Linked DNA regions of Homo sapiens: regions 1, 2, 3, 4, 5 and 6 are each linked to region 7. Evidence: promoter capture Hi-C in 16 types of primary human blood cells and fetal thymus (Javierre and others, 2016). All regions are on one chromosome and are shown on one strand. The core of a region is centred on a gene start or on the middle of the fragment in contact, and the rest is flanking DNA. Distances in the headings are between cores, read along the strand shown.

Region 1 (2,947 bases), core at 26-2,525, 420 kb after region 7:
AGAGGACAGGTATTTAGGGGGCTGGGGTGAGGCTGCACAGGAAGCCGAGGGGGTCAGAGGAAGGGAGAAGGCGGGGGGTCAGAGGAAGGGAGAGGGCGTAGGAGGAGGAGTGTGTGGTGTGGCCCCAGGAGCACCCTTAGACCACTGTGCTGAGGGTGGAGTCATCCTCTGGGTGCACTGGCAACAGGGGCCGCTTGAGGGTGCGCCAGGTTTCATCTCGGTTCTACCATACATAATGCACCAGGTCAGCCACCCCTCAACGGCAGGGGCCACCTTGGTGCTCCTCTGGGCCCTGCCCCGACCCACACAGCTCTTCCTCCCCTGCCAGCGGCAGGAGCTCCTGCCCCACCGAGGTCTGGTCGGGTTCTGGGGTCACACACGATGCCTGTCCTGGTGCCCGGCGCCAGCCTCACCAGCCTGAGCACTCCCTGGAGGGCACAGTCCCAGTTTCACGGGTTGGCGGATTGGTTCACTTGGATCTGCAGCCCCACGAAGGCCTCCACGGGCACCCAGGCCAGCTTTTCAGAGAGGTGGAGGTGGTGCACCATGCACGCCAGGGCCGAGAAGGCTGCCCCTAAGAGGCGGGTGAAGATATTAGGGGACAGGTGCAGCTCCTCCAGGACAGGCGGGTGCTGGAAGGCACCGCGGGCACTGACGCCAGCTGGTTGGCATCCAGGCCTGTGGGTGTAGCTGGGATGCGGCGGGGCAACAGAGCTTAGGCCTGCCTGGCTGCAGCCAAGCGTCAGTTCACCGGCTTCCTCTGCCACATGGCAGCCCTGTGGAGGTGCCCGGGGGCTGGGCACGGTACCCCGGTGCCTGTCACCAGCGGGAGGGATGGGAGGTGACAGGCTGCTGGTGGGAGGATGGCCACAGATGGGCAGGGTCCCGGAGTGGAGTAGGACCCCTGTAGGCGGCAGGGCCTTCTCCTGTGCTGCTGCCCTCTCCCGGAAAGTAGCCTCCCTGCTGCTGGGCTCTGGAGATCCACTGCCTCCTTCACAAGTCCTGTTTGCTCCTGGCTGCTGGAAGTTGCCGGCTGGGGCCGAACAGTGTTGGGTTTTCTGGCATGTGGTTCCGGGCCCAGGTGTGGAATACCTGAGCCATGGCTTGGCCAGTCAATGCCAAGAGAGGGCAGATCCTGGACCTGGATGAAATCTGCCATGGGGAAACCAGGCCCCAATTCCAATTCCTGCCTCTGGCTCCCTTCCCAAAGCCTCGGCACTGCCATCTTCCTTCACCCTTCGAGTTTGGGACTTCCTCCCAGAACCCCTCTTCCTTGCCCAGAGCCTGGCTGGGCAGAAGGATCCCGGCTTGGCAGGCCTGAGGTGCAAAATAGGGTGGGGCCCATCTCACATCCACTGCCTGGCAGCAACCTGTATCCCCCACCTCCATCCATCCCTCTGCTGTCCTTGGCCTTTCTAGCATGCCCTGTGGCACTTTCTTCCATGGTGAGTGGACTTCCCTTGTCCTTTTCCTTGGAAAACATGTCTCTCTTCATGGGACCTCATTTCCTGGCTTCTCACAGTACTCAGCCCCTTTCTATTCTTCATCCTAATGTAAACATGTATGACGAAAAGACTTGAGGAACTAGACTTTTCAAGCTCCTTCTGGCTCTTTAATACTAAAATTTCATATGTAATTAAAAAATAGAACCCAAGGGCTGGGCGTGGTGACTCACTCCTGTAATCCCAGCACTTTGGGAGGCTGAGGCAGGCGGATCACGAGGACAGGAGTTCGAGACCAGCCTGGCCAAGAGGCCAGCCTGGCCAATATGGTGAAACCCTGTCTCTACTAAAAATACAAAAATTAGCTGGGCATGGTGGCGTGTGCCTGTAGTCCCAGCTATCCAGGAGGCTGAGGCAGGAGAATCGCTTGAACCCAAGAGGCAGAGGTTGCAGTGAGCTGAGATCTCACCACTGCACTCCAGCCTGGGCAACAGAGCAAGACTCCATCTCAAAAAAAAAAAAAAGAAAAAAAAATTGAACCTAAGATTCATAGGCCTTAGTATATTTAGTGAATAGCTCTTATTTACCTTTATAAGTTCTCTTTGTGCCTGACTTATTTCTCATTACCTTCATGCTCTTATTGTATTCTGATCTTGAATTAAATAGATGCCGGGGATTTATAAAATAGAGTTATAAGAAATATTTTACAGCTATTAAAGTGGGCATAATTAAAAACCTTAATGCAGTTTCAAGAATACTGTAGAGAACTCCTATGTTCCCTCCACCTGATTCCCTAATCGTTAGTAACGTACCATATCTGCCTTATTATTCTTTTTCTCTCTGTATAGATAAAGATTATTTCTTTTTCCAGAACCATCTGAGAATAAGTTACAGACATGATGCCAATCACCCCTAAATACTTTAGTGTCTGTTTCATAAAAATAAGGATACTCTTCTATGTAATCACAGAATGCCCATGAAAATCAGGAAATTATCATTGATACCATAGCACCTTCTTTTTTTTTTTTTTTTTTTAGATGGAGTTTCACTCTTGTTGCCCAGGCTGGAGTGCAATGGCACGATCTCAGCTCACTGCAACCTCCTTCTCCCAGGTTCAAGCAATTCTCCTGCCTCAGCCTCCCAAGTAGCTGGGATTACAGGTGCCTGCCACCATGCCTGGCTAATTTTTTGTATTTTTAGTAGAGACTGGGTTTCACCATGTTGGCCAGGCTGGTCTCAAACTTCTGACCTCAGGTGATCCACCTGCCTCGGCCTGCCAAAGTGCTGGGATTACAGGCATGAGCCACCGTGCTCGGCCACCATAGCACCTTCTAATCCACAAACTTCATTCAAATTTTACTGATTTTTCCCAATAAAGTTATTTATAGATCCAGGATCCAATACAGGATCACGTGTTGCATTTAATTGCCGTGTCTCATTTGTTTCCTTCTATCTGCAACAGTTCCTAGTCTCTTCTTTCTTTCATGACCTGGAATTTTGAAGAG
Region 2 (2,775 bases), core at 5-2,504, 360 kb after region 7:
TTTCCAAGTTCTCAACATGCTGTCTGTCTAAGTTTGCTGCGATCACCGGCCTCTTGCTTCTTTTTTTTTTAATCATGCTAAGCACCTCCTGTCTCAAATGTCCTTGCATTTCATTTGATGTTCTCTCAGTCTAGAATAGTAGCTGTTAGTAGAAGATGGTTTAGAATCCTGGAGATTGTTTGCCTCCTGACTTCAATGCAGTGCTGAAGTCTTCTTCCATAGAAATCCTCTTCAACCACTCTCTGGCACCTCTATAACTCTGTCCTTGAACGCTGCTTTAGTTGAGTCTCAACCCTGAATCCAGAGTGCCTAGTTGAGAAAATTGGCTTTCCCACTTATAACGTGTATGATTTGGGGCAGGTTAATTAACCTTTTCCTGCCTCAGTTTCTGCATCAGTAAAATGGAAATAATAATTACACATATTTATTGTTTAGAACAGTGTCCATCTGGAACATGGCAAAAGTTCAGTAAGTTATTGCTTTTCTTCACAGCACTTACTACATTTTATTACATACTGGTCTTGTCTTCTACATTAGAAGTAAGCTCCATTAGGGCAGGACTTTGTATTACTGAGGACTTTATCCCTAGCTCCTAGTGCAGTGTATTTAGTATAAAGGCCTTCAGTATTTGTTATGAGTTAATTTACTGAATGTTTAAAACGCCATAAATTGCTATAACAGAAGAAAAGAATTATAATTAAAAATAAAACACAGGCCGGGCACGGTGGCTGATGCCTGTAATCCCACACTTTGGGAGGCCGAGGTGGGCGGATGGATCACAAGGTCGAGGTCGAGACCATCCTGGCCAACATGGTGAAACTCTGTCTCTACTAAAAAAAAAATACAAAAATTAGCTGGGCGTAGTGGCGTGCACCTGTAGTCCCAGCTACTCAGGAGGCTGAGGCAGGAGAATCGTTTGAACCCAGGAGGTGGAGGTTACAGTGAGCCAGATTGCACCACTGCACTCAAGCCTGGCGACAGAGCGAGACTCTAAAAACTAATAAATAAAAACATAAATAAAACACAAAAAGCCATAAATGATTGTATTATTTTCTTTCTTTTTTTTTTTTTTTTGAGACGGAGTCTCACTCTGTCACCCAGGCTGGAGTGCAGTGGCACGATCTCGGCTCACTGCAACCTCCGCCTCCCGGGTTCACACCATTCTCCTGCCTCAGCCTCCCGAGGAGCTGGGACTACAGGCGCCCGCCACCACGCCCCGCTAATTTTTTGTATTTTTAGTAGAGATGGGGTTTCACCGTGTTAGCCAGGATGGCTATAATCCTCATACTTTGGGAAGAAGAGGTGGGAGGATCACTTGAGCCCAGGAGTTCCGAGACTTGCATGGGCAACATGGTGAGACCCTGTCTCTACAAACAATAAATTAGCTGGGCATGGTAATGTGCACCTGCAGTCCTACCTACTGGAGAGGCTGAGGTGGGAGGATTGCTTGAGCTCAGGAGTTCAAGGCTGCAGTGAGCAATGATCATGTCATTGCACTCCAGCCTGGGCAACAGAGTGAGACCTTGTCTCTGAAAAAAAAATCCAAACTCCCCTCCCTCAAAACAGGCTTCTATTTTGGGCATTATTTTTAACTTATTTATATGTTAAACATCTAATTAATCTCTTGAGATGCTAATTTATAGAAAAAAAGAGACAAGTTAATGACGGCTACCTTTGAAGTCAGGCTTAAAAAGTAACAATTCTTCGTATTTAGCCTTTTTCTTTTTTGTTTTTGAGATGGAGTCTTGCTCTGTCACCCAGGCTAGAGTGCAGTGGTGCTATCTCGGCTGCCTGCCAGCTCCGCCTCCCAGGTTAACGCCATTCTCCTGCCTTAGCCTGCCGAGTAGCTGGGACTACAGGCGCCTGCCACCACATCTGGCTAATTTTTTGCATTTTTAGTAGAGACAGGGTTTCACCATGTTAGCCAGGATGGTCTCGATCTCCTGACCTCGTGATCCGCCCACCTCGGCCTCCCAAAGTGCTGGGATTACAGGCGTGAGCCACCGCACCCGGCCTATTTAGCCTTTTTCAACTTCCACTGCATTTTCACATACATTATACCTTTTGTTCCCATATCCTGTGCTGTAAATTTGAGCAGGTTTTATATAGTTTATATATGAGGAAAAAAAAAAGATACCTCAGAAAGGCTGATTTGCCTAAAGTTGCATGAATTTTTTTTTTTTTTTTGAGATAAAATCTTTCTGTGTCACCCAGGCTGGAGAGCAGTGGTGCCATCATGGCTCACTGCAGCCTTGGCCTCCTAGGTTCAAGCAATCCTCCTGCCTCAGCCTCCCAAGAGGTATGTGCCACCATGCCCCAGCTAATTTTTAAAAATTTTTGTAGAGATGGAATCTTGCTATGTTGCTCAGGCTGTTCTCAAACTCCTGGGCTCAAGCTATCCTTTTGCTTTAGCCTCCCAAAGTGCCAGGATTTCAGGCAAGAGACACTGCACCTGGCCTAGTTGCATGATTTGCATGAGCTGAAATACAGTACCCTGGTGCTTTCAATATTAGAGTTTCCATACTTTATAATTGTACCTCCCCAACCTTCAGCCCCTGCTCTCTCTCACTCTAATATCTCACAATCACATTAATTTTTTTGCTGTTTATATGTCTTCTAAGGGAAATGACAATTTTAACTTTGGTGTAATATTTATTGCACCTATCTACTTAATTTTTTAATGTATAAAAATTGCATTAAAACATCAATATGCAATTATTTTCCCACCACTCAAAAATTTTAATATGTATTGAAGATTTTGGCCAAAAAATATGC
Region 3 (3,121 bases), core at 247-2,746, 460 kb after region 7:
TTGGTATAGTATTATGTTTTATGCTTTGAAAGTATTAGTATGCAAGGAACTCAGGCAAGAGCATAAAAGAGGAAGTAGGAATAATACTTTATGTTTGAATAGGCTTTAGACTTTCCAAAATACTTACATCCTACTGAAGCTTGGTAGCAAGTATTATCCTTGTTTTATTGATGAAAAACATGCTTCCAAGAAAGATGCATTACAAGCGACAGAAAACTCAAAGTGGATTACACAGTAAAAGGTATCTGTCTCTCTGTCTGTCTCTGTCTCTGTGTTTTGGCTCACAGAATTGAAAAGTTCAGGACTAGAGTGAGCTTTCAATGTGCCTTGAAAGAGATGTTCGATTGATACCATCAGGGCCCAGATTCCCTTGACATCTCTTAGTTCTGTTTTCCTAGTATGTGGTTAACTCTGATTAGCCAGGATGGAGACAATAACTCCTGAGCTAAATATGTGGAGTGGGGCAAGGATGGCCCTCTACAGGCGAAGGTGGGGGTGCATTTTAATATGAGTATGGGGGAAAGGATCAGATCTGGGCTAGATCTGATATTCAAGAGGTGTAAACAGATGACCAACAAGATGTTAACAAGATGACACGATTAGAAAGATTTTAATCAAGCCTAGAACCCAGCTCCTCTGAATCCTGGCAAAACATAGGTAGGAACAAAACTGGGAAACAAGACAAGGGATGTCCCAGGAGCTGATGTTTCAGTAAGAGCATAGTTGAGAAGAGACAGAAGAAAACAATAGTTAACAGAGGTAGGTGGATTTAGAAAGAAGGCTTTACTTTGAACAAGACTTGATCCCAGTTGAGACTTTGCTGAAGGAATCCCTAATAGACAGACCTGAGCCACCTCCTTCCTTTGTCATATATATGTATCTCATAGGCATCTTACAAATATGATGACTGCTCTATAAATAACCGAGAAATCTTAGTTTCTGGATCTTACCCTGGCCCAACTCCAAATTATCTTCTTTGGTTTTAGCTGGATCTTTAGGAAGACTGGTCTGCCTAATTTTGTTGCATCTCATTGTGCCCTATTTGCCAGGCCGCTTTGATAAGGAGATCTTCATATAATTCCTTTCTGTGTTGCTGCCCTGTCTTCCATGTTTAGAGTTCGAATCCTCCTTTTCTAATAGCTGAAACACACCCAGATCAAAATAAGCTTCATTAAGGCGGCATTCTACAAAGACAGTGGTTCTCCAATGGTGGTCCTCAGATTACCTGCATTTTTTTTGATGCCTTGTGGAAATAGAAAAACACCCAAACATCACCTGTTTCTTGAAGTTTGGTGGAACTCATTGAATACAACTCTCTTAGGCCAGATGCCACTTTAGAAATTATGTCATTGATTACATTTTCAACTTTTTTTTTTTTTTTTTTTTTTACAGTGCTTGATCTATTCACATTTTCACCTAATAGGTTTATTTAACTCAGGACTTTATGGGGTTGAGAAAAGCACTTTATTATGAGAAGAATATGTAGGTTATTTAACAGAGTCACCTGCAGCAGTCAATATACAATAAACTATAATGATACACAGTAGTTCTAAGGTCAGCCTTGCTATTCATATTATTTTCCAGGATCACTTCACTGAGGAACTGAACACGAGCATTTAACTTGTGTGACTAGTTATGGCCTGGTCTGGATTTCCTTCTGTAGGTATTGTCTTGTTCTTGTCTCAGCCTTTTCTTGCTTCCAAGGCCTTACTCATAAATTCTAATCTTTGCTTATGCAGTCTTTAAGTATTGTGTTTTCCTCTATTGATTTCATGGAAGGCTTCCCTCTAATGTAGCATACATTGGCCCTGCCTGTGCAAAGCTTCTTTTCTCTCCAACAAGCAGGAGACTTGTGTCTTTAGCTCTTTTTCTGCAAGAGCTGCACTCTCCCGTTCTCTTGTGGCCATGGCAGATGATTTCTCGTCACCTCCTCCCTCTCCGCCAACTTCCTTTCCTCCATCCAATTTCTTTTATGACAGGAGTTCCTCTTGGTTGAAGTTAACATTAAAACAGTTAACTTTGTTTTTTTTTTGAGATGGAGTTTGACTCTTGTTGCCCAGGCTGGAGTGCAATGGTGTGATCTCGGCTCACTGCAACCTCTGCCTCCCGGATTCAAGTGAATCTCCTGCCTCAGCCTCCCAAGTAGCTGGGATTACAGGCATGTGCCACCATGCCTGGCTAATTTTGTATTTTAAGTAGAGACAGGGTTTCTCCATGTTGGTCAGGCTGGTCTCGAACTCCTGACCTCAGGTGATCCGCCCGCCTCGGCCTCCCAAAGTGCTGGGATTATAGGCGTGAACCATCATGCCTGGCCAACAGTTAACTTTTAACTGAAGCTGAAGTTAAAACAGTTTCTTCATAGGCAGACATATGAATGCTATAATTTTCTTTTGATAATATCTAATGTGCTCTCTCCTCATATCACCAAGCAGTAATTTTGAATCTTATTGTTTTGTCCTTTGTGCCAGGGTTCTCAAGATGTCTTACATGAAAAAAGCTCTGTGGCACATTACATTTGGGAGCTGCTGATTAAAGACATATAAGCTCTTTTGCTGACCATTTTTCCAGAACCTTGACTGGAATGTTAATATCCATTGTAAATCTCTAAGTGGGTACCAGTGTTCTGCAAAGCACTCTGGGAAATGTTTCCCTTTCCTTTATCTTTTTTAGCCAGTCCCAATGTATTATAACTTGAGTGAAACAGAGCTGTCCTATACGCCACTCTCAGCATACTGAGACATCCAAAGGAAATCCAAGTCTGGCTGAAAAAATCACCCACCTTGAAAAACAACGTATGTTGATCAAGACAGATGCCTCTTGGAGAGGGAGCCAAAGGATAACTGCACCACCCGGGATCATCTTTATAGATCTCTCTTCCTGAAGGCCACCTCAGCACCCTAGCTGCTTCTCAATGTCTCTCTGCAGCCTCTTTTCTGTAAACTCTAGCCCTTTGATTTTTCCTCTCACCTCCGAGGTCTATTATATTCTTTCCAGATGAGCTCCATACTCTTTCTCATGAGTAAATTAATTTGACCTTTCTTGGGCTCTTCCAGCTTTTCATTTTACCCAACACTGAGATCATTGCAACAGTTTCCAGAAGTTAGACAGAGCAAAGTCTTTT
Region 4 (2,940 bases), core at 166-2,665, 390 kb after region 7:
GGATGTTTTAGGACATAACTGTTCCACCTCAGATCATCAGACATTAGATTCTCATAAGGAGCATGCAACCTAGATATCCCTCCCATGCACAGTTCACAACAGGGTTCCTGCTCCCATGAGAATCTAATGCCATTGCTGATCTGACAGGAGGTAGAGCTCACGCAGTAATGCTTGCTCCCCCGTGGCTCACCTCCTGCTCTGTGGCCTGGTTCCTAATGAGTTATGAACCCATACTGGTCTATAGCCAGGGGGTGGGGGATCTCTCTGCTTTAGAACATTCTTTTTTTTTTTGAGACGGAGTCTCGCTCTGTTGCCCAGCCTGCAGTGCAGTGGCGTGATCTCGGCTCACTGCAACCTTCGCCTCCTGAGTTCAAGTGATTTCTGGCTAATTTTTGTATATTTTTTAATAAAGGCGGGGTTTTGCTATGTTGGCTAGGGTGGTCTCCAACTCGTAACTTCAAATGATCCACCCCTTGGCCTCCCAAAGTGCTAGCATTACAGGCGTGAGCCACAGTGCTGGCCAAGAACATTCTTCATTTCACTCCTTACCTCTCATTCTCACGGCAAGGCATTTTTTCTTACACTTATTCACTAAGTAAAATCCTTTACAGATGGGGAAATGTTAAAAGAATGCTCATACACAGCTGCATGATACAATTCCTATCAATGGTCCCTAAGCATTTCCTCCTTAAACCAGTCCACTTGCAGAAAAAGACTAATCTATATAGATCTAGGGAAATATGAAATGGGAGTAGTTTACTTTATCCACCACGCATTTAATCTGATAATTGATATACTACTTCTGAGACATTTATTTATGAGAGTATTTGCAAAATTGTGCAAAAAATGAGTGCTTTTAGAGATTTTTGTTCTCCTTCTTATTGGCTAATTTTATTTACCACTTCAGACCTTTTATTATAGCTTCTAAGCTGTTAACAGGGATCATGAATAAATGATTAAAAAGCCGTTTATGCTAAAAATTTTCTGAAACTTGGAATTCTAACTAGTAAAATATCTATGACAAATCATGAATAAATATATTAATGGTATTCACTAAAGAACTAGTCCAGAAACTAAACAGGTTTGTTCTATCTGTTGAATTCTCTCTGATGCTATAAAAGTGCTAGACACATTTGTACAGATAAATATTTGACGTAAAACACAGTGGAACAAAAATAATATTCAAAATGAAGAAATACAAACACACATTCAAAATATGCATTTTTATTTACCTTAGTGGTCCACAAAGAGTGAGGCCAAAAAACCACAAGAGTGAAATAATACACCCAGCAACTGCATGTTTAAATATTTTGATCCACTATAAATGGAAACAAAAAAATTAAAAATTTCAGTCACATATATTTTGCTATATATCCAAATTTTAAATAAAATACAGAAAGATAATAATAACAAATATTTTAAAGGTGAAATCATTACATATTTTGTAAATAGAAAACATAAGATCCCTTGACTAAGTCTAGATTTCCAAGACAGTATTCTTATTCTGGGCCGGGTGCTGTGGCTCATGCCTGTAATCCTAGCACTTTGTGAGGCCGAGGCAGGCAGATCACCTGAGGTCAGGAGTTCAAGACCAGGCTGGCCAATGTGGTGAATGAAGCCCCGTCTCTACTAAAAATACAAAAATGAGCTGGGTGTGGTGGTGGGTGCCTGTAATTCCAGCTACTCAGGAGGCTGAGGCAGGAGAATCGCTTGAACCCGGGAGGCAGAGGTTGCAGTGAGACAAGATCGTGTCACTGCACTGCAGCCTGGGCGATGGAGCAAGACTCTTTCTCAAAAAAAGAAAGAAAAAAAAAAAGGACAGTATTCTGTTTTCCATTATCTATATTCTTGTCTGCTGGTAGATTTTGAAATCTTTTTCTTCAGAGTACAATTTTATGATTTCTCAGTTTCCCACTAGTTTCCTAGGATCATTTAACTTTTTGTCTTTAAATTCTTTTCTACCAGGAATTTTTAGTGATCCAATTATCTGAAAGGAGAGAAAAAAGTTAAAATGGGGTTTAGACTATTAATCATATTTTAAAAAATGTTCTTGGTCTCTGAAACAGAAGTACTTAAATTCGTCTTTCTAATAAAAAAATTATGACGCAGGTTTGTAAGTCATGGCATAAAGCAAACATGTACTATGGTATAACTGCTGCCCAAAGAAGTGACGATGTGAGATGATTATGCAAAATGTAGGACATTTCTAGTTTGAATCACAGCTGCCTAAAGAGAACAGTGACAATGATCATGAGGGTGTCACATTGTCACAATGATGATGAGGCATCATTCTAAGAACTTCATAAGTATTAATTCATTTTTCCTCACAGTTCTGTTAGGAAGTTACTGTTATCTCCATTTTACAGTGAGCAAATTAAGGTAGAGAGAAATCAAGTAACTTGCCCAAAGTAAGGGTCAGTAAGGAGGACAGACAGAACATGACTTTGTCTGACTCCAGAAATCACACTCTTAACCCCTATGCTTTGTCAGCTTTCCAGTGACATTTGTACTAGGCTCTTGGGCATGCTTTCATGTCCAATTTGTAAATCTTTCAGAATAAGAAGTGTGTACTGAAGAAAACAATTACATGAATGCTTTATAATTTTTTTTACCCTCTTGTTTTTTTTAAAAACATTCCATGATCTTAGTACTTTATGATTTAAAGTCTCCATTCTGAAAAGACAAGAGCAAGTTAACTCTAAAATTGTTCTGTGGCATACTTAAATCATTCATTAAGTACCCATTATAAAAAATAAGCATTGCCTCCTGGCCCACTAAACGAGAAGCTGCTAGGAATAAAAGATTCTGCAAAAATCTTACCTGGTGTTTGGTAATAGTTTTCCCAGAAGAAAATGGCTTTTGAAACAAAACCATAAAAAATGCAGTCCTGTAAATATTGAAACATTAATATATTAATATTAATCCATATTAAACACAAGA
Region 5 (2,977 bases), core at 43-2,542, 490 kb after region 7:
AGGCAAATGCCTTTGAACCGTCCACTCCAGTCTGTCAATCCTCCTTGAAGAATGGTCCAGCCTGCACTGCTGCTTTTTACCATCAGGGGGCAGTGGGGCCATGAGTGCCCAGGGAGACAGGGAAGGATGCTTAGCACCTGGCGAGTGGGAGGAAGTGTCTCTCAGTGTTTGCACTTAAAGCATCTCAGTAGCTAGATACTTCATTGGTACGAATGGTGTATTTTCTTCTAAATTTTGTGCAATCCAAAAAGGCAGGAAGTTTGATCTTAATGCATTTTCCATGGTCATCTATTTCACTCTGAGCCAAGAATTTATTAGGAAAACGAAAAGAATTGCAAGAATAACTTTAGATTGACATTTCTCCATTTTCCTACTTGTCGAATAGGTTTGGTACGTGTTCTGAAGGAACACGGTGCCAGTTGAAATGGTGCTCTGCTTTCTTCCCTGTTATTCTGAAATAGATGTGCTTTTCACACACATGGATAGACCATTTACTCCTGATTTGTATCTCAGGGACAAATCTGACTTATTAACACCATTATTTGTAAACTGCTAGCCTGGTTTCCTGTGCTGTTGTAACGCTATCTTGATGGGTTGCTGTGAAAATGTGAAGATGTCTGTCAGGCAGGAAAAATTATGTAAAAATGATGTGGGTATAGAAAATGGGATCGACAAAATGTAATAAACTCCTCCTGGGCTGAACAGCAGAGCTGCATATGTAATGAAGTACTTTAGGATTACGTCACCTTTTATATAACATCTGGCAGTGACTTTTATTTCAGAGCTAATTTGGAGAAGCCAGGCACTTTTCTCTTCCCCTCCCCAAGACTGCCTTTATCTGAAAGACGAAAGAAGGAACTGTTACATTTTGCATGCAAAGAAAGCCAGAGTGGCTAGATTACTCCCTTAGGGTAATGGAGAAAGGAAAAAGAAATTGAAAAAGGTCAGGTGAACAAAGCAGAAGGAATGAAGAGGTTTGTGTGATTCTTAGTGAAATTGGACCAGTCTAAGCAACCAGACAGGTAATCTGGGTGACTCTACCCCTCCTTCTTCCCTCCTGTGCCCCTCCCTTGGCTGTGGCTCTATAGGTATGACCCAAGAATACTATGGAAATAGCATTTCCTTAAATATTTTGTCTGAAGTGAAGGGTTGAAAAAATTATTGAGATAATTTGGGAAAATCCTAAAATTTGTCCCTTTAGCCTTTGAGAAAAAGCTCAAAGCTCAAACACCTCTCTCCCCCAGTAATATCCAGACATTGATCTATAACAATAGATTATTCAGATGGTCAACTTGCTGCTTTAATTTGTCTATATAGGAAATGGTGAAAAGTCTTTTATGAAATTGAATGGGAATTCACTCCTTTGAAGCCAGGGACACAGGAGGGATGAAGACCCTCTTTGTACTTCCCCCTTTCCTTCCCTCATAGCTTCTGGGTCTGTGCTTGCCTTGGTGCAACCTGGACCTTGCTGGACCATGTTTGCTGACCTCCATGTTCTCTTTCATCACGTGTTTTTTGAATCTTCCATTATTGTGTCAACCCTGGACATGCTCTTGTCTGAATTTCAAGGCCATGTCTACAGTTCAGAAGAGGTAGTGTCTTCCTTACGTATCTAATGGGTTCCCAAAAATGTGTTTGAAAGTTAGTTGGATGTTTGAAAGTCGAACAATAGATTTGCATGTTGTAAGGAAGAATTTGTTCTCAATTCTAGCTAAAGTATATGATGAAATCCCTAATTATGGTTTCTGCCAGTGCCACCTCCCTCAGGCCTTGGCAACCCTGTGGGTGGGTGAGAACAGGCACATGGCTGGAGTGGGTGGCAACTGCCAGTCGTTGTGGGCTGAGGAAGTTAATCCAGGAATCTCTCCTTCCAAGACTTAGCCCTCCTTCCCTCATCCCAGCCTGAAAGGGCAAGGGCTGGAGTAGAGGGTCTGGTTCTTTTTTTTTTTTTTTTTTTTTTTTTGAGACAGAGTTTTTCTCTGTCACCCATGCTGGAGTGCAGTGGCTTGATCTTGGCTCATGGCAAACTCCGCCTCCTGGGTTCAAGCTATCCTCTTGCCTCAGCCTCCCAAGTACCGAGATTACAGGCTCAAGCCACCATGCCTGGCTAATTTTTTGTATTTTTAGTACAGATGGGGTTTCACCATGTTGGCCAGGCTGACTTACTTCGAACTCCTCACCTCAAGTGATCTGCCTGCCTCAGCCTCCCAAAGTCCTGGGATTACAGGTGTGAGTTACCACACCTGGCTGAGGGTCTGGTTCTTAACCTACCTCCAGGAATAACCACATGTGACACCCATGAGGTGGTGGACATGGCATTGGTGGACATGGGCAGAGTACTGGAGTGGTTGGGGCTGGTCAAATGACACCCTGAGAAATGGTGGTCCTGTGTGAGCTGAGAAACTCCAGGATCCCTGGCCATGATCTCTGGAGTTCTGTCTGGCAGTACTGGCCAATGGAGACTTATCTCTGGCTGGAAAGGAGGTGCTGGAAAATTCTTCTGTTGTCTTAACTTGAACCTGGCCCCTTCTCCTAGTAGCTGTGTCTGCCTGGCATGAGATTGTTCTATCAATAATCTAAGGTAATTCAGGAAAGATTGAATTTTGAGTATTAAAGGTTTGCAGATGCTAGTGTTTAATTTTTGATAGTGTGGTGTCTTGGTTATGTATTGCGGCATAGCATACTACCCCAAAACTTAGTGTCTTAAAACCATATTTTAATTATCTCACAAGTTCCTTGGTCAGGAATTTGCTCAGTGCTTGGTTGGGTGATTCTTCTGCTTCACATGGCATTGACTGGAGTCACTTAACAGTCTGGTGTGGGCTGAAGCATCCAAGATGGCTTCCCTCATATGCCTAGTGTCTTGACAGGAATGGCTGACAGGCTTTGTGCCCTTCTCCCTCTCGATGTAGTCTTAGAGTATCTCTACGTGTTCTCTTTAGAATGCCAGTTGGACTCTTACATAGTGGCTCACTTA
Region 6 (2,771 bases), core at 13-2,512, 450 kb after region 7:
GTTAAACATTCTGAGTAGTTCATAACTAATTCTTTTAACTGAATTATTTTTTTGAATGTGCTTTTCTTACTTATGCACCCCTCACACTTCTGTTTTTATCACAACTCGATTTGAGTGGAAACTTTTGAGAATTTCTGTAGTTATCTTTTGATATGTCTTTCTATTTAAAAGGGAACCAAAACATTTATCTTAATTTTTACAAGTCATTAAAATTTATCTAGCTAAGTCCTCCGTGATTACAAGTTAAAATGGCTGAGTTTTATATCTCCAATGCTTAGCACAATGAAAGCTTGGCATGTAGTAGGCACTCAGTGAAAGCCTGGTGGACGTCTCATAGTAAAAGACAGAACAGGGAAAATGTCAGACAACAGCTTGCCTGTCCACAGGCCATATTAAAATGTTTATGTCCAGAGCCTTTTGTTGAGGGAAATGGACACTTCTACAGCCTCTTGCATTTGTTGACTGTATCTCTGGAGAGCCCAGCTCTGCTTCCATTACCAATTCCTGCCTCTTGTCTTTTATTGATCACCAGTGCAAATTCTTGACAGAGAAAACCTGATTGAGTTAGCAAGTAACTATAGGCTTCCTCACAGGCCTCCAGCCCAGTGGTTCTCAAATGTGAGCATAGAATCCCCTGGAAGTCTTATTATCCTTATCCATAGGTGGCCACATCCACAACCACATCACATATTCCCCGGCCTACAGCTGATGGACATCTTACCCAAGGACCGTTCACCTACAGGCTAGAGCAGTGGTTTTCAAAGTGTGGTCTCAAGATCAGAAACATCAGCATCACCTGGAAATGTATAGCAATATGGGTGATCGGACTCTGCTGGAGATCTGCCGAATTAGAACTTCTGAGGGTAGTGCATAGCAATCTGTGTGTTTTTTCTTTCTTTCTTTCTTTTTTTTTTGAGACAGAGAATCACTCTGTCATCCAGGCTGGAGTGCTGCCATGGTGCAATCTCGGCCCACTGCAACCTGTGCCTCCCAGGTTCAAGCGATTCTCCTGATCAGCCTCCTGAGTAGCTGGGATTATAGGTGCGCACCACCATGCCTGGCTAATTTTTGTATTTTTAGTAAAGATGGGATTTCACCATCTTGGTCAGGCTGGTCTCGAGACCTCAAGTGATCTGCCTGCCTTGGCCTCCCAAAGTGCTGGAATTACAGGCGTGAGCCACCACTCCCGTTGGCAATCTGTGTTTTAAGAAGCCTTCCAGGTGATTCCATGCTCACATTTGAGACCCACTGGGCTGGAGGCCTGTGAGGAAGCCTATAGTTACTTGCTAACTCAATCAGGTTTTCTCTCTCAAGAATTTGTACTGGTGATCAATAAAGGACAAGAGGCAGACAATTGATAACGGAAGCAGATCTGGGCTCTCCAGAGATGCAGTACACAAATGCAAGAGGCTGTAAAAGCCACGGACTAGCAGAAGTTATGTTAGTTGTGAGGTAGAGAAAAGATACTCAAAGTTGATATTAAAGAGGTTGGTAGCAGTGGAGCTGGAGGAGCAGAGAAAGAAAGTTGCTGAGTCACCATGATGGTGGGTCAATGAACACAGCAGCTGAAGAGTCAGCATGGTGACCTGGGTTTATTTGTTGCTACGGCAGCATTGCACCTTCCAGTTCTGGGAACGGCGTCCAGAACTGCGAGAGAATAGATTTCCATTGTTTCTCTTCAGCCTATGATATTTTGCTATGGCAGCCTGAGCTAGGGCATACTTTAGGTGGTATAATCTCATAGAAGCCTAGTCAGGTTTTTTTTTTTTTTGTGATTGTTATTTGTTTTAAATCTGACTGAAAATTTTCTTGAAGCAAGTATAGGCTCAAGTTGATTATTATTATTTTGCTTTAGAAACCAAAAACTTGTATGCATTTTTTTTTTTTTTTTTTGAGATAGAGTTTCACTCTTGTTGCCCAGGCTGGAGTGCAGTGTGGCATGATCTTGGCTCACCGAAACCTCTGTCTCCCGGGTCAAGCAACCTCTGTCTCCTGGGTTCAAGTGATTCTCCTGCCTTAGGCCTCCCTGGGATTGCAGGCATGTGCCACTAGGCCTGACTAATTTTGTATTTTTAGTAGAGACGGGGTTTTACCATGTTGGCCAGGCTGGTCTCAAACTCCTGACCTCAAGTGATCTGCTCACCTCGGCCTCCCAAAGTGCTGGGATTACAGGCATGAGCCACTGCGCTTGTATGCTCTCTTGAGCAGCTCTTTCATCAGCTTTAGAAAGCTTCTCCTTTGTCCTGGTGGGAGGCAAACCACATCTATGTTTAAGATGCTTGAGTTACAGAGACACTGGTGTGCCTCATCCTTAGGGTTGAAACTGCCTTTGCAAAATTATGACAGACAGTGAAAGAGATCTAACTGGCTCTATCTTGGTTCTAACCTTTAAGCTGTCCTTTCTCCCTCCTGGGCATAGGCCGAACTAACTTTGGGAGGAACTTATAGTTTAAAACAAAGACAATAATAGCCCTTTCCCAAAACAAAACTCTTTCTTGTGTGGGGACTAGACTGCCTCTGTAGGACTAAGAAATTAGCCACAAGATTAGAAATTATGGTTTTGGAGTCATGCAGCTGGAGGCTACAAGATTCTGATCCTCCCTCAACTGATCCTAAGATCAGTGCTTGAGACATTTTGCAGACCCGCACTTGATGGATCAGCTGGAACCACCGAGATCGATAAACTGGCTCATCTGATCTTGTGGCCCCCACCCAGGAACTGACTCAGCGCAAGAGGACAGCTTCAGTTCCCTATGATTTCATCTCCTACC
Region 7 (2,946 bases), core at 290-2,789:
TGTAATCCCAGCTATTCGGGAGGCTGAGCAGGAGAATCGCTTGAACCCGGGAGGCAGAGGTTGCAGTGAGCCCAGATGATGCCACTGCACTGGGGGACAGAGCCAGACTCCGTCTCGGAAAAACACACACACACACACACACAAGCACCTCATATGTACAGTGCAAAAGAACTACTGTTACTATTGTTACACTTGGGAACGCCTAGTTTTCTATCACACCAAGAATCACCAAAAAACACCATAAGTGCCTTCATGGGAAACGTTTCTCTTTTCCAGGTATCCCAATAATACACCTGTTGCCTAAGGGCCACACACTGACTGGCCTGGAAAGCCGCCGCCTCCTCCTCGAGCAGGGTAATTCCCCAAGCGGGCAGTGTGGCCAGCGAGCCCCGGGTCCGGCCTAAGGATGCCGCGGCTTTTCCCTCGGGCCCGGTGGCTTCCCGAGGAGCGCGAGGGGCTCGGCGCCGCTCCCAACCCCTAGGCGCAGAGGCCATCTTGGCCCTCGACCCCTGCTCCCCGCACGCTTCCTCCGACGCAGGCAACATGGCTGGCGCGCGGGGCCGGCCCAGTCCCGGAGGTCCCCAAACTCCGTGGCCCGGCTGGGCGCGGGTCCCGGCTTCCGTGCGCACCGAGGCGCTCCCAGGCAGCGCGCGCCCACGTTCGCCGGGCAGGCACCGCCCGGAGGCAGTTCCGCCCCCCTGGGGGCAGCCCTTTTGGTCACGGATGAGAATCCGAAGCGTGAGCAGCTTCCCTCGAAGTCCAGCCTCACTCGAAATTAACTCCCCGCCCCCCAGCTTAAATCGACGCGGGTTCACACAACTCGCAACAAGTGGATTCGAAGTAGCCAGTGTGGCCCACACCGTGACTCCTGGAATATTTCACAGATTGAATCCAGCCCCCGTCTCCCCGGGATATCCAAAGGGGTGGGGTGGGAGCGGAAGGAATGAAATTCCCCCCGGGATCTAAGCCGCCCGGGCCGCCGAACAGCCGCCTCGCTGCAGCCTCAGGCTTAGGACCCCCAAGGAGCTGGGCGCAGGATCCCTCTCCATGAAGGCCGCCCCCCCAAACTGCAGCCCCAGAGCGGATGCAGGATCGTCGCTGTTCAGGAATGTCGTGCCCCATAAAAGTGAAAAGTTGCCCGCGCCGCTGAGGCACTGCTAGCTTTCAGCGTTTCCGCGGAATAAAGCTTGATCGGCGGCTCCAAGCCACCCCTCGCCCCAGGAGGCAGCCTCCCAAGTTGGCCGGTGCTGCTCTCTCCGCAGACCCGCGCCTCTCTGGTTCCCACGAGTCCCAGCTCGGGGACGAAACTGCCACCGAAACCAGCGCGGAGCGTCCTCCCCCCGGCACCTCCCCTAACATAGTCGCCGCGGTCCCCCCACGGGGACCCTCGGGCTCCCGTGCGCCCCTGACGCCGCGCCCAACACTCACCCGCTCGCCGCAACTGGGCCCGACCCTCCGGGGGCCAACGGTGCCAGGGAGCGCGCTCACCTGGCGGGCGCACCTGACGCCGCACCGACCGCCAGCGCTCAGCCGGGGACTGGGCTGGGGACGTCTCCTCCCCCTTCTCCCTCTCCTTTCCCTCCTCCCTACAACCGGCCCTGCCCCCGGGCATGCGCACCAACGTGGAAGGGGGTGCGGGAAGCCTGCGGGCCAGCGCCGCGAGTCCCACCTGCTGCGTCCTAGACCGGCTCCTCGGCGCTCTGGACCTGGCTCTCGGTTCCTGCCGCCTCCGCCAGAGGAAGCAGGGAGGGAGAGGTGGACGCGGGAGTGTAGGTGTGGTGTGTCGGCCTCCTCCCTCGGTGACCAATTCACCTGAAACTCGGATGGGAGGGGGCGGGAGGACGCGGTCCTGCTTCCCACACCCTGCCAGCGCGCTGTTAAAGGAACCGCGCGACGTTGCGGCCCGAGAGGCGGGGCGCAGAGGAGAGGCGCGGGCTCCTAGGGGGCAGCACGGATGGGGGTCCCTGACCACCCCGGGGTGCGTTCGGTGCTCCGCCTGCTTCGGATGGAACCTTGGGGTGTCTGATGGAGAGAGGCCGAACGAGGTCCAGAGGGGACTGTTTCCTCCGGAAAGAGGGTCCAGGCACTCAGCACTTTGATAGGAAAGGCACGTCCTCACAGGACACTTTTCTGCTTCCAGAATTTGATTAAACTGTTGCTGGAAAAAGGCATCTAGATGTATTGCTCCAACGAAAGACTCCTGGGAAAATTTCAAAAGTCGTGTGTAAACATTGGCGCTGTTTCTGAATCTCTAGATTCAGAATAAGAGACAATTACTTAGAGGGGTTAAAATGAGGGTGAACTACTGTAGGTGTTAGTTGCCATCCAGCAGGCTAAAGTGCATAATACAGTTTACACATCACCACCCCAGGGTCCTCTCCTGCCCACCCGGTCCGCTCTTGAGGACCGGGAAATTTAAACTATTATGGCTCTTTGGCCTGAGAAAAAGCACCTTATACGTTGTTTACCAACCTGTAGTGCTTTAAGAACAACACTACTTAAAAAGCAAAATAAACTTGGTTTACTTTTTTTTTTTTTTTAAGAAAACGAAAAAGCACCTTAGTTCCGGGTGCTGTATTCTATTTCTTGATCTGGATTCTGTTTCCAAGGGAAATTTCATAGTCTGCACTTAACACTGTGTATATTTTTATGTATGTTGGTTGTTTTTCAACATATTTTTTAATTGTACTCCAGGATGTGGCAATTATAGTTCTTGGCATTTAACTATCTGCATTGAAAGCGAACTTTTAGGTTTCTTACATCCTGCTTGTCTTTGTGTTCCAATCTGGAATGTCAGCATTGCTAATAAATTTCTATCCAATCCCACCCACTTCTCTACCTTTAATTAAATGGTTAGAGATGTGACTCTCCCATACATTAGATCTTAAGGCACAATTCATACTTGAGGAAGTAAAAGCACTATATAAATATGAGGTATTTCAGATG

Evidence for each region. The method cuts DNA at HindIII sites, captures the fragments that hold promoters and counts their contacts. A CHiCAGO score of 5 or more calls a contact.
Region 1: a fragment that was not itself captured here is called in contact with the fragment with the promoter of OCLN in region 7 in 9 of 17 cell types (total CD4 T cells, neutrophils, M2 macrophages and 6 more); the score reaches 7.6 in total CD4 T cells.
Region 2: a fragment that was not itself captured here is called in contact with the fragment with the promoter of OCLN in region 7 in 5 of 17 cell types (erythroblasts, neutrophils, total CD4 T cells and 2 more); the score reaches 5.8 in erythroblasts.
Region 3: a fragment that was not itself captured here is called in contact with the fragment with the promoter of OCLN in region 7 in 6 of 17 cell types (erythroblasts, total CD8 T cells, monocytes and 3 more); the score reaches 9.9 in erythroblasts.
Region 4: a contact is called between a fragment that was not itself captured here and the fragment with the promoter of OCLN in region 7, in 1 of 17 cell types (monocytes). The highest score is 5.7, in monocytes.
Region 5: a fragment that was not itself captured here is called in contact with the fragment with the promoter of OCLN in region 7 in 4 of 17 cell types (total CD8 T cells, naive CD8 T cells, neutrophils and 1 more); the score reaches 7.4 in total CD8 T cells.
Region 6: a contact is called between a fragment that was not itself captured here and the fragment with the promoter of OCLN in region 7, in 2 of 17 cell types (erythroblasts and M2 macrophages). The highest score is 7.8, in erythroblasts.

Annotation. Positions count from the first base shown.
Region 1 is chr5:69,072,870-69,075,816 of GRCh38, reverse strand. It overlaps the pseudogene LOC100130639. Among named protein-coding and RNA genes, the nearest start is that of SLC30A5, 20 kb to the left of the region's middle. RefSeq lists a silencer at 601-769. The HindIII fragment of the contact is 6,468 bases long and covers 1-2,947 here.
Region 2 is chr5:69,131,013-69,133,787 of GRCh38, reverse strand. It overlaps SLC30A5 (solute carrier family 30 member 5), which reads right to left. Exons shown (of 16, transcript NM_022902.5): 16 at 2,719-2,775. Among named protein-coding and RNA genes, the nearest start is that of SNORA50D, 28 kb to the left of the region's middle. The HindIII fragment of the contact is 4,208 bases long and covers 1-2,775 here.
Region 3 is chr5:69,026,459-69,029,579 of GRCh38, reverse strand. All of the region lies in intron 1 of LINC02198 (long intergenic non-protein coding RNA 2198), which reads left to right. Among named protein-coding and RNA genes, the nearest start is that of LINC02198, 1.9 kb to the left of the region's middle. The HindIII fragment of the contact is 656 bases long and covers 1,169-1,824 here.
Region 4 is chr5:69,103,009-69,105,948 of GRCh38, reverse strand. SLC30A5 (solute carrier family 30 member 5) reads right to left here. Exons shown (of 16, transcript NM_022902.5): 3 at 2,821-2,887; 4 at 1,233-1,318. Among named protein-coding and RNA genes, the nearest start is that of SLC30A5, 10 kb to the right of the region's middle. The HindIII fragment of the contact is 4,406 bases long and covers 1-2,940 here.
Region 5 is chr5:69,005,072-69,008,048 of GRCh38, reverse strand. The region is part of intron 1 of LINC02198 (long intergenic non-protein coding RNA 2198); the gene reads left to right. LOC107984116 (a long non-coding RNA gene) reads left to right here and starts at 864. Exons shown (of 3, transcript XR_001742709.2): 1 at 864-1,022. The HindIII fragment of the contact is 3,932 bases long and covers 1-2,977 here.
Region 6 is chr5:69,045,323-69,048,093 of GRCh38, reverse strand. No RefSeq gene overlaps it. Among named protein-coding and RNA genes, the nearest start is that of LINC02198, 17 kb to the right of the region's middle. RefSeq lists a cis regulatory region at 1,527-1,537 and an enhancer at 1,460-1,604. The HindIII fragment of the contact is 1,941 bases long and covers 292-2,232 here.
Region 7 is chr5:69,491,383-69,494,328 of GRCh38, reverse strand. It overlaps OCLN (occludin), which reads right to left and starts at 1,539. Exons shown (of 9, transcript NM_001205254.2): 1 at 1,429-1,539. The HindIII fragment of the contact is 10,406 bases long and covers 1,189-2,946 here.